3 separate regions of the Homo sapiens genome follow, and all the other regions are linked to region 1. Evidence: promoter capture Hi-C in 16 types of primary human blood cells and fetal thymus (Javierre and others, 2016). All regions are on one chromosome and are shown on one strand. The core of a region is centred on a gene start or on the middle of the fragment in contact, and the rest is flanking DNA. Distances in the headings are between cores, read along the strand shown. Region 1 holds the start of SPIN2B (spindlin family member 2B). Region 2 overlaps NBDY (negative regulator of P-body association). Region 3 overlaps NBDY (negative regulator of P-body association).

What was found. Contacts are between HindIII fragments. The CHiCAGO score rates a contact against its expected background, and 5 or more counts as called.
Region 2: a contact is called between a fragment that was not itself captured here and the fragment with the promoter of SPIN2B in region 1, in 5 of 17 cell types (M0 macrophages, fetal thymus, non-activated CD4 T cells and 2 more). The highest score is 9.4, in M0 macrophages.
Region 3: a fragment that was not itself captured here is called in contact with the fragment with the promoter of SPIN2B in region 1 in 2 of 17 cell types (total CD8 T cells and non-activated CD4 T cells); the score reaches 5.6 in total CD8 T cells.

Annotation. Positions count from the first base shown.
Region 1 is chrX:57,119,928-57,123,165 of GRCh38, forward strand. SPIN2B (spindlin family member 2B) reads right to left here and starts at 1,621. Exons shown (of 2, transcript NM_001006681.2): 1 at 1,311-1,621; 2 at 1-704. The coding sequence starts at 702. It also overlaps a transcript of FAAH2 not described here. RefSeq lists a silencer at 1,789-1,908. The HindIII fragment of the contact is 2,706 bases long and covers 1-2,542 here.
Region 2 is chrX:56,787,528-56,790,765 of GRCh38, forward strand. The region is part of intron 2 of NBDY (negative regulator of P-body association); the gene reads left to right. Among named protein-coding and RNA genes, the nearest start is that of NBDY, 60 kb to the left of the region's middle. The HindIII fragment of the contact is 4,764 bases long and covers 1-3,238 here.
Region 3 is chrX:56,818,563-56,821,800 of GRCh38, forward strand. It overlaps NBDY (negative regulator of P-body association), which reads left to right. Exons shown (of 3, transcript NM_001348129.2): 3 at 1-617. Among named protein-coding and RNA genes, the nearest start is that of NBDY, 91 kb to the left of the region's middle. RefSeq lists a silencer at 1,594-1,888. The HindIII fragment of the contact is 3,504 bases long and covers 1-3,211 here.

The DNA.
Region 1 (3,238 bases), core at 371-2,870:
GGCTTCCACTTGGTGAATGACCATGCCGATCCTTTTGGAGCCATCTTCTTTGGTATATTCCACATGCTTACCTATTAGGCCATCTACAACTCCTCCTGGCTCCCTCTCTGTTGGAGGAGACTCACTGGATTCTGGCATGATGCGGAGGTCACCTTCCTTATAATCATCTAGAAGCTGGTACATGTACAAGACAGGATCTTTCTCATAGGTAATATAAAACCAGGCTTTCATGATAGGTGCTTGAGCTAAGACCATCCCCCTCCATTCATCCTTAGAACCATGCTCTCCCTCAAACATATGTTCCACTGCTTTGCCAATTATGGTATTTGCAAGGTTGGCATCACTAATGTGAGATGATGCCACCCTGTCAGAAAGAATTTTAAGAGACAAAACCCTTTCATCTCTGTGAAGTTCCAGTCCATAGACACAGTCAATTCCATCATATTTCACCAGATAAAGAGAGGGATTTATAGGCACCTGATCCAGAACGGTTCCTTTCCACTGCGTGATGGGCTCATCTCCTTCCTTCCATCCATGAGAAATTCTGCAGCCCACGATGTTCCTGCGGGGCTGGGATGAAGGTCGGCCTCTCTGCTTCTTTTGGGAGACTTTTTTCTTTGTCATGTTTGCAGACCCAGTGGCCCGTCCTGCAGCTGCCCTGGTTTGTTGCCCTTCGGCTTCCTGTGCGTTGGGGGTCTTCATGCCTGCTGGGGGAGGAGAGAGGATAGAGAGACACACCCAGTGTGCCACAAGGCAAACTTTTCCCTATAGCCATGTCTGGATGTAGTCTGCGCTAGTGCCTAAGTTTCCCCTAGGAGCCTGGAAGCAATGCTGGAAATCCTGGCTGCATGCCCGCAGTGCTCTCCCTCTTAAGTTCCTTTGGGCTGTGGGGAAGGGCTGGGGTGGTGCAGTAGAGCTGTCTGGGGTTAGGAACTCTGCAGAAGTGGCTGGGCCACCTCCTCCTAGCTCAGAGCCCACTGCCCTCCCGGAACCCCTTGCTACCACTGGCGTCCACTTCCAATCCCCTTGCAAAGAGGCCTTGACCGGCACCCACTGCCCTCCTTCCCTGAGCGTCCCAGCTGCTGTCCACAACACCCCCTGCCTACCCTAACCACTTCTCTGGTACCCACCGCCCTTGCTTCCCGGCGCTCACCTTCAAATCCTTGTCTGGCTCCCGTTCCTACCCCCTTTTCATGTTGCTCACCGCACTCCCCCACCCCACCCTTGCCTGGCGCCCAACTCCACCCCATGTCTCCTGCTGGATTCCTTCCCATCCCCCTCTCCATTCTGGCGCCCACTAATGGCCTTGCCCTGCCTGGCGTCCACCGCCGGGGATCGCGGGCCTCACGTGCCCAAATCGGACACCTCGCTGCTGCCTCCGCTACGAGCCTGTGGCGAAGGAGGGTCAGCAGGCGACCGGCCGAGTGAATGCTTGCAAGAGCGGGGAGGGTAGGATCCGTAGATGAGGAGCGTGTCTAGGAGGGCGGCGAGACAGGCAAAGAGGAAGGCAGCGGCGTCCCCACCGCTTGGCTCGCTAGCCCTCCGCCTCCCTGCTGGCGGTGGCGGCCCCTCAGCCACATCGGGATTCCACCAGTCCCTGCTGTCGCCGCGGCAGTCTCCTCCCTCTTTCCGTAGCGCAGCTTCCTGCCCAGAGAGAGGCCTCCTCTTCCTGTCAAACACCCGGCTCTCCTCTCCACCAGGCTCCCACGCCCACCACACAGCCTGTAGCCCCGGCGGAGCTATGGGCTCTGACTCCGCCTCTTTCCAAATCCGGAGTAGTTCGTGCCACAGTCGTCCTCGGAACCCTGTGGCCCCTTCCTCACCCGTTTCAGGGCCACTTGGTTCCCACCTCCACCTTCTTAGTCTGCCTGCCCTGCTTTCCATCTTCTTGGAATTCGCCTTGCTGCCGCCCCGCGCCCACCCCCGCGCCCACCCCTGCCCCTGCACCGTCCCATGCCCTTATGGATTTATTCTTTACACGTAAATATGTCTTTCCTCTTTTTGAAAGGATTTGGAGTTGGAACAGAGAAATTCACTATGGTAAGTCTGCCATTTTGACCCAGTCTCTACCTAATTTTTGCTGACTGATATTTCCTGGCATTTTTGTTTTTGTTTTCGAGGGATTTTTTTTTCCTTTTCTTTATTGCAAGATAATTGCATGTACAACGTGAACACTATCTACATTTTAGGAAATTAATATTAAGAGGAAAATCATCAACTGCAGTCCCATCTCCCATTTTTGAGGGCCTCACAGCAAAATATTAATGCTCATAGTTTTTTTTCCTTTTTCCTAAACTTTTGCAAAACTGGGATTTGTTTTTTATCTGCAATTCATGTCTATTAATTTTTCCAGGAAATTAGATGTTTTCTAATCGATTTTTTCATTCAACAAATATTTATTGAGCACCTGTTACATATCTTGCACTTGGTCCGTAAAACTCAATTTTAAAGTGATTTATAATTTGGCTTTTCTCCCAGTACTGGGCATTTGACATAATATTTCCACAATAACCAGTAATCAGATCTATGTATCGGAATAGAAAGCTTTGCAAAAAAATAACTTTATAAGAAATAATTAAAGTTATAGTTTTATAAATCAGTGGAGAAACGTTGGGTATTCTTTAAGGAATGTTGAAATAATTATTTAAATATTTTGAGAAAGGTTGTATACTAATGTTGTACCAGTATCAATATTTGATTTATTAAAAGGTAAAAAGCAGCAAAATAAAATTGAACAGAAAGCAAATGAACCAACCAAAAACTCTGTAAACAAAACAATGCTTAATGGTATCTTTCTTATTCAGATACTTATGGTATTTGAATGAGGGGATGAGTCGGATGTTAACAGAACAACTACACTTAATAAAATAACATCTACAAGGAAAAATAGAAGTAATAATAATCTCGATTCAACAGTCAAAGTATGAAAGAACATTAAAATATTACTTAATGTCATTGATCATGAAAAAGCTTCATATCTAGTGCTGATGCAAGTGAAAGTTTATACAATTTTTATGGAAAGCAATTTGCAGATATGTCATAGTTTCAGTGAGGGCTTTTTATTTTATTTTCATTTTTATTTTTTTAAATTATATTTTAAGTTCTAGGGTACATGTGCACAATGTGCAGGTTAGTTACATGTGTATACGTGTGCCATGTTGGTGTGCTGCACCCATTAACTCCTCATTTACATTAGGTATATCTCCTAATGCTATCCCTCTCCCCTACCCCCACCTCA
Region 2 (3,238 bases), core at 442-2,941, 330 kb before region 1:
TCTGAACATAAATGCAGGAAGTCTGTTATCAGATAGGCCCAAGCAGCAGGTGTGAAACTGGAGCATCCTGGGTCAAGCTGCTTAAAAAGGGACCCCACTTTGGGGTAGGGGTAGATAAAGTCCCCTTGGGATCCTTGTCCTTGTGTGATGCCATGAGAATCTGGTGTGTGGTGGCCTTCCCCAGCCAACCTGTGCCACCCTCCTCTCACCCTTGCCTGTGTGAAAGCAGAGTCAGACTTGAGTGAGGTGTTGAGTGTCCCCTGTGAGGAGACTCTGGCCTCAGGCCCTGTAGCTGCCTGTTGAGTGGGTGGCCCCAGTGGCCCATTCTGGTGACCTCCATTTATGATCCCAAGTTGGCAAACTCTACCTGCAGTTCCAGGCCTTGGGAAGTCTCCTAGTCTGGGGGCAAATCCTTGTATAAGACAGCCGAGTGGCCAGCGCCTCGTCCTGGAGCTGCAGCCCTATGATCCCAGTCCTCCTGTGGTTTCCCAGAGGCCATGATAATGTGTTCTTTGTCTTTTACTTTCTGCACCTGCGGGAGCCATGAAACCTAGAGAGGACCAAAGGAAGGGCAAAGGCTGGCTGCCTCCATAGCATTCCCGCAGGGTCTCCAGGCTACTGGTCCTTGGTGCTAGAGTCCCCTGAGTTTGGTTGTCAGCCTGGGACCAGGTGGCTTGTTCCTTTCTCTTCTCCTTATCTTTTTTATTTTTTTCTCCTTCCTCTTTATTCACATGGGAGAAGGCAGAGACCATCAGCTTAGAGAAGCAAGGTTATGGTTGTAGTTGGCATTTGTGGAGCCATACTGCCATCAAGTGGAAACTGTTTCTGGAAATGGGAGGGAGCTGGGCACAAGTGCTGGGGAAAGCCCAGGGGCACAAAACAGATGGTGGCATGGGGCCCCCAGACTGAAGCAGGATGAGAGAGGAGCTCCTCACTGGCCCTTGGCCTGGGCTCATTCCCAGGATGGTGCCCTGGCTCCACAGCTGCATGTAAGAAAGGGCAGTTGGGGCAGCCCACCATGGCTTCCCCTGGCAGTTTCCAGGAACTGCCGGGCATGAGTCGCCCCACACTCAGCACCCCGTAGCTCCTTTTTTTTTTTTTTTACCAGGAAGATAGGGGCCTTCTGGCCTTACTGTGGCCCCAGCCAAGGAGGGCAAGCTGTAACTGCCCACAGAAGAAACCAGAGTAAACCACTTCATTCTCTGGCTGTCAGTGGCCAGTGGCTTCCCTTATGCGTATCTCAAAATGGCTGGGGGGCAGCTTCACTGTGTGGACTGACTCGTCTTGGGGCTGCCTGGCTGCCCTGTGTCAGGGCCTCTAGAGTAACTGCTTCTCCAAGGGGTCCCAGTGGCAGGCACTCTTTGTTCTAGGGCTCTAAACCCCAGTTGGGGAAACCCTGGCTTAAGCAGAGTCCACCCAGCCCCGCACATTTTCACTGATCTCTGTGCCTGGCAGAAGGCGAGTGTCCCTGCAGCCTGTTGTCATGTTCAGAAACATCTTCCTCTGGGTGGCACTGTGGCTCCGCAAATGGCAGTCACGTCTTTTCCTTCCCCCACCTTGCCTTGTCTTTCTCCATTTGCTGCCAACGGAATAAAACAAATGCCAAAAACAAAAAGCAAAGAAACAACGAAGAAACTGGCCAAGGATCACCCACCTCACCTACAGCAGGGATCCCCACCTACGTGGTCACTTTGGGGGAACCTGCAACAGTAGGAGGTTCTTTGCCTCCCTCCTTCCCTCTGGATTCTTCTCTGGGCAGGGTACCCAGTGAACCAGAGGAGTCTGTTCTCATGAAATCCCACCCTTAGGGCTGTGTCATGGTGGGGGTAGGTTGTACTGGGGGCAGTATGATGGGGTACAGGAGAGGGATGTGTGAGTGTGTGGGCCTGCATGCAGGCCACTGCAGATTCCTCTAGGAATTGGCCCAGGTCCCCAAAGCAAGAGACCAGGCCTCATGATGGCATGCACCACACTTGTCCCTAGGTAGCACTCTTCCTCTTGGGGAAGGGACAAAATCTTGGATGGAAAGCAGCCAGGTCCAACAGGCATCCACACATTGTTGAGCCATGGAGCAGCAGGGAGTTGGGTCGGATGTTTGTTGAGATGGGACTGCATGGGACTGACTCCTGTTCGAGGCCTTCAGCTACCTCTCTCTCTGGAGCCCAGGCACTCATAGGGGTCCAGGGGTTGGAGGGATTTTCCAGGTTTTTTCACAGGTGGCTCTCCTGGAGAGAGAGCCACTTGTCATGTCTTACTGAGCGTGCATGCTCACTGGAACGTGGTGGTTCACCAGTTATTTGCCTTGGCATCTTGGTCATTCTTCCCATGTGCATGGGTAGCCAGAGCCCAGACAGTGCTTGCCTTCTCCTGGGCCCTATCTTTGTTCCTGTTCTGCGTGTCGAAATGGAGGTTGAGCCTGGAGTGTGTTGGTGGGGGGTGTGGTGGAGTGTCTGTGCCTTTGTTTGATACAGAGCTCTCTGAGGTCCTCAAGCTAAACTCTGGTGCTTGCCGGATATTCATCCAGAAAAATGAATGAGACAGTCGAGGACAAATTATGCTGCCCCTTTAGGGTCTCCAGGAAGACATAAGAAAGCCTCACTTGGGCCATCATACAGAGCCCATTTTGGGATGCGAAGCCATGACCGCGTTGCTCTAAAGGTTACATATGCTACCCATGCTGCTTGATGCCTGGGCAGCAGTATGGAACACACAGCTCTTCGAATATTGCAAATGTTTTCTTTCTTTGCTTGTTACAAATCTTCCTGGATGTGTAGACCACACTGTGAACAAGCAGAGCTTCATAGGACAGAAAATTCACCCCATGGGTATTGATTCCCACACTCAGGGGTGTGTGAACCACTCTCACATCACAAGAGCAGTGTCAATCTCGTGTGTGGGCCTCTACTCTCAGGGCATTCTGGGAAGAAGACCCACATGACTATGGAACAGGAGTCACCCCCTTTTGGTCACTTGTCAACAAATGCAGATTCTTTTCTCATAAGTAGGTAGCATGCACCACGGGGCACCTCCGGCCCTGCCTAGGTACAATGGGAGAAGAAAAGAATGCAGGAAGATCTGACTGCGTCTTTAGGAGTGACATGGCAACTCTGAGTTTCAGAGGTCCTCGTTTTTAACTTTTAACTCCCATTACGTCTCAACATTTTCCTGTCTTCATCTGTGCTTCCAAAGGTCCTCAGATACATACACATCTCACCATGCATACTAACAAGCACCTGCC
Region 3 (3,238 bases), core at 210-2,709, 300 kb before region 1:
AGGCATTTTATGCATCAGAAGGCACAGTATTATAAAGATGACAACACTCTTCAAAATAATCAAACTATTCAATGCAACCCTTATCAAAATTAAGGTTGCCTACTTTGAAGAAATTTATAACCTGATTCTAAAGTTCATATGAAAATGTAATGGACCCAGAATAGCCAAAACAATCTTGAAGTATACAAAGTTTGAAGAGTCACATTTCCAAATTTTAAAACTTATTACAAAGCTACAATAAACAAGTCTATGTGGTACTGGCATAGGATATAAATATTGATCAATGAAATAGAATCCAAAGTCCAGACATAAGCCCTCACAAAAGTTAATTTGCAGCCAATTAACTTCTGAGAAGGAGGCAAGACAAAAGGGGAAATAACTATTTTCAATAAATGGTACTGGGACAACTTGGTATCTACATGCAAAAAAAAAACAAAAAAACAAAAAACTTCCACCCCTACCTCATGCAAAATACAAAAATTAACTCAAAATAGGCCAAAGACTCAAATATAAGGGTTACACTATAAAACTCTTGGGAGGAAATATAGAATAAATTTTTGTGACCTTGAATTAAGTATTAGATTTTTAATTCTTACACCAAAGCACAAGTTAATAAAGGAAAAAAAAGATAAACTGGACATAATTAAAATTGAAAAAAAATTTGCTTCAGTGAACACAGTCAAGAAATTTGAAAGACAGCCACAGTGCAAGATTATTTTTGCAAATAATATGTCTCATAAATGACTTGTATCTAAAATATATAAGACCAGGCATGGTGGCTCATCCTGTAATCCCAGCACTTTGGGAGGCTGAGGCAGGGGGATCACTTGAGGTCAGGAGTTTGACACCAGCCTGGCCAACATGATGAAACCCCATCTTTACTAAAAATACACACACAAAAAAAATTAGCAGGGTGTGGTGGTGTATGCCTGTAATCTTAGCTACTCAGGAGGCTGAGGTGGGAGGATAGCTTGAACCTGGGAGGCAGAGGTTGCAGTGAGCCAAAATTGCACCAATGCACACTCCAGCCTAAGCAACAGGGCAAGACGCCATCTCAAAAAATAAAACAAAATAATAAAATAAAATAAACAGTAATTACCGCTAAATAATAAAACAAACAATAAACCAATTTTATAACGAAAGGATCTGAATAGATTCTTCTGTAAAGAAGACATACAAATCACAAATTACACATGAGAAGATGCTCAACACTATTAGTCATCAGGGAAATGCAAATCAAAATCACAAAGAGACAGCAATTTATACCCAGTAGGATACTTATTATTATTATTATTTTAAATAGCAAAATAATAAATGTTAGAATGTGGGAAAACAGGAACATGCGGCATTGTTGCTGGTAATGATAAATGTGCAGCCACTGGGCAAACAATTTTGTGGTTCCTCTCTAAGTTAAAAATAATGGCTGGGCGTGGTGGCTCACACCTGTAATCCCAGCACTTTGGGAGGCTGAGGTGGATGGATCACCTGAGGTCAGGAATTCGAGACTAGCCTGACCAACATGGTGAAACCCCATCTCTACTAAAAAATATAAAAAATTAGCCCAGCTACTCAGGAGGCTGACGCAGGAGAATCCCTTGAACCTGGGAGGCAGAGGTTGCAGTGAGCCGAGATCCCACCACTGCACTCCAGCCTGGGCATGACAGAGCAAGACTCCATCTCAAAAAAAAGAAAAAAAAAAGAAATAACATGCTACCCAGCAATTTTACTCCTGATACATAGCCAAAATAACTAAAAAACAGGTGTTCAAACAAAAATTGTACAGGACGGTTTACAGCAGAAATATTTGTACTAGGAAAATGTGGAAACAACTCAAATGCCCATCAACTGGTGAATGGAAAACAAAATGTATATTCACACAATGGAATATTAATTTAGTCATATACAGGAAATAAGTATACATACTGCCAGAATAAACCTTGAAAGCATTATGCCAAAAAAAAAAAAAAGGAAAATAATTCTTGCCTGGTGGTCTGGGAAAAGCAAAAGCATTATGCTATGTGAAAAAAGCCAGTCACACAGTACCATATATTATATAATTTCATATAAATAAAATGTCCACATGAGGCAAGTCTATAGGTTCAGAAAAAATATTTGCTTAAGGATGGAGTTTCCCTTAAGTTATGATTGAGAATTGATGTCTAAGGACTGTGTGATTTTATTCAGGGTTAATGAAAATGCATAAGAATTGACTGTAGTGATATTTACACATATCTATGCTTATCTATAAATATCCAAAACCATTGAATTGTACACTTTAAATCACGGATTGTATTATATGTGCATATCTCAAGTTGTTTAAAACAATAGATGTCTGGCTAGCACCTCCCAAGGCAGCCTCTCCCAACTTTTATTTTATTTTTTTGAGACGGAGTTTCACTCTTGTTGCCCAGGCTGGAGTGCAATAGTGCAATCTTGGCTCACTGTAACCTCCACCTCCCAGGTTCAAGGAATTCTCCTGCCTCAGCCTCCCGAGTAGCTGGGATTACAGGCATGCACCACCACACCCAGCTAATTTTGTATTTTTGGTAGAGACAGGGTTTCTCCATGTTGAGGCTGGTCTCGAACTCCTGACCTCAGGTGATCCGCCCGCCCCTTGGCCTCCGAAAGTGCCGGGATTACAGGCGTGAACCACCATGCCTGGCCAGCCTCTCCCAACTTATTAAATTCCTATGCAGCAAGATGGCAAAATGGAATTCTTCAGCACTCATAACCTTGCAGAAGTATCCATTTGAACAACTATTCATGCGCAAAATTACCTTTACAAGGCCTAAAGAAACCAAGTGAGAGATTACAGCACCTGGGTGTAGCAAATAAAGAAAGATGCATTTAAGAGTGGAGAAAGGGCAGATCATTTGAGGTCAGGAGTTTGAGACCAGCCTGGCCAACATGATGAAACCCTGTTTCTACTAAAAATACAAAAATTAGCCGGATGTGGCAGCAGGCACTTGTAATCCCAGCTACTTGGGAGGCTGAGGCAGGAGATTCGCTTGAATCTGGGAGGCGGAGTTTGCAGTGAGACAAGATTGCGCCACGCACTCCAGCCTGAGCGACAGAGCAAGACTCCATTTCCAAAGGGGAAAAAATAATAGAGTGGAAAAAGGACAGTTTTACATTATGCACATCACCCCTCCCCCAACTCTAAGTAGCACAGCATGGAGAAAGATACACATCTATGAGGGGAAGAAGAAAAAGCTTAGTACTGGACTTCCTCAAACCC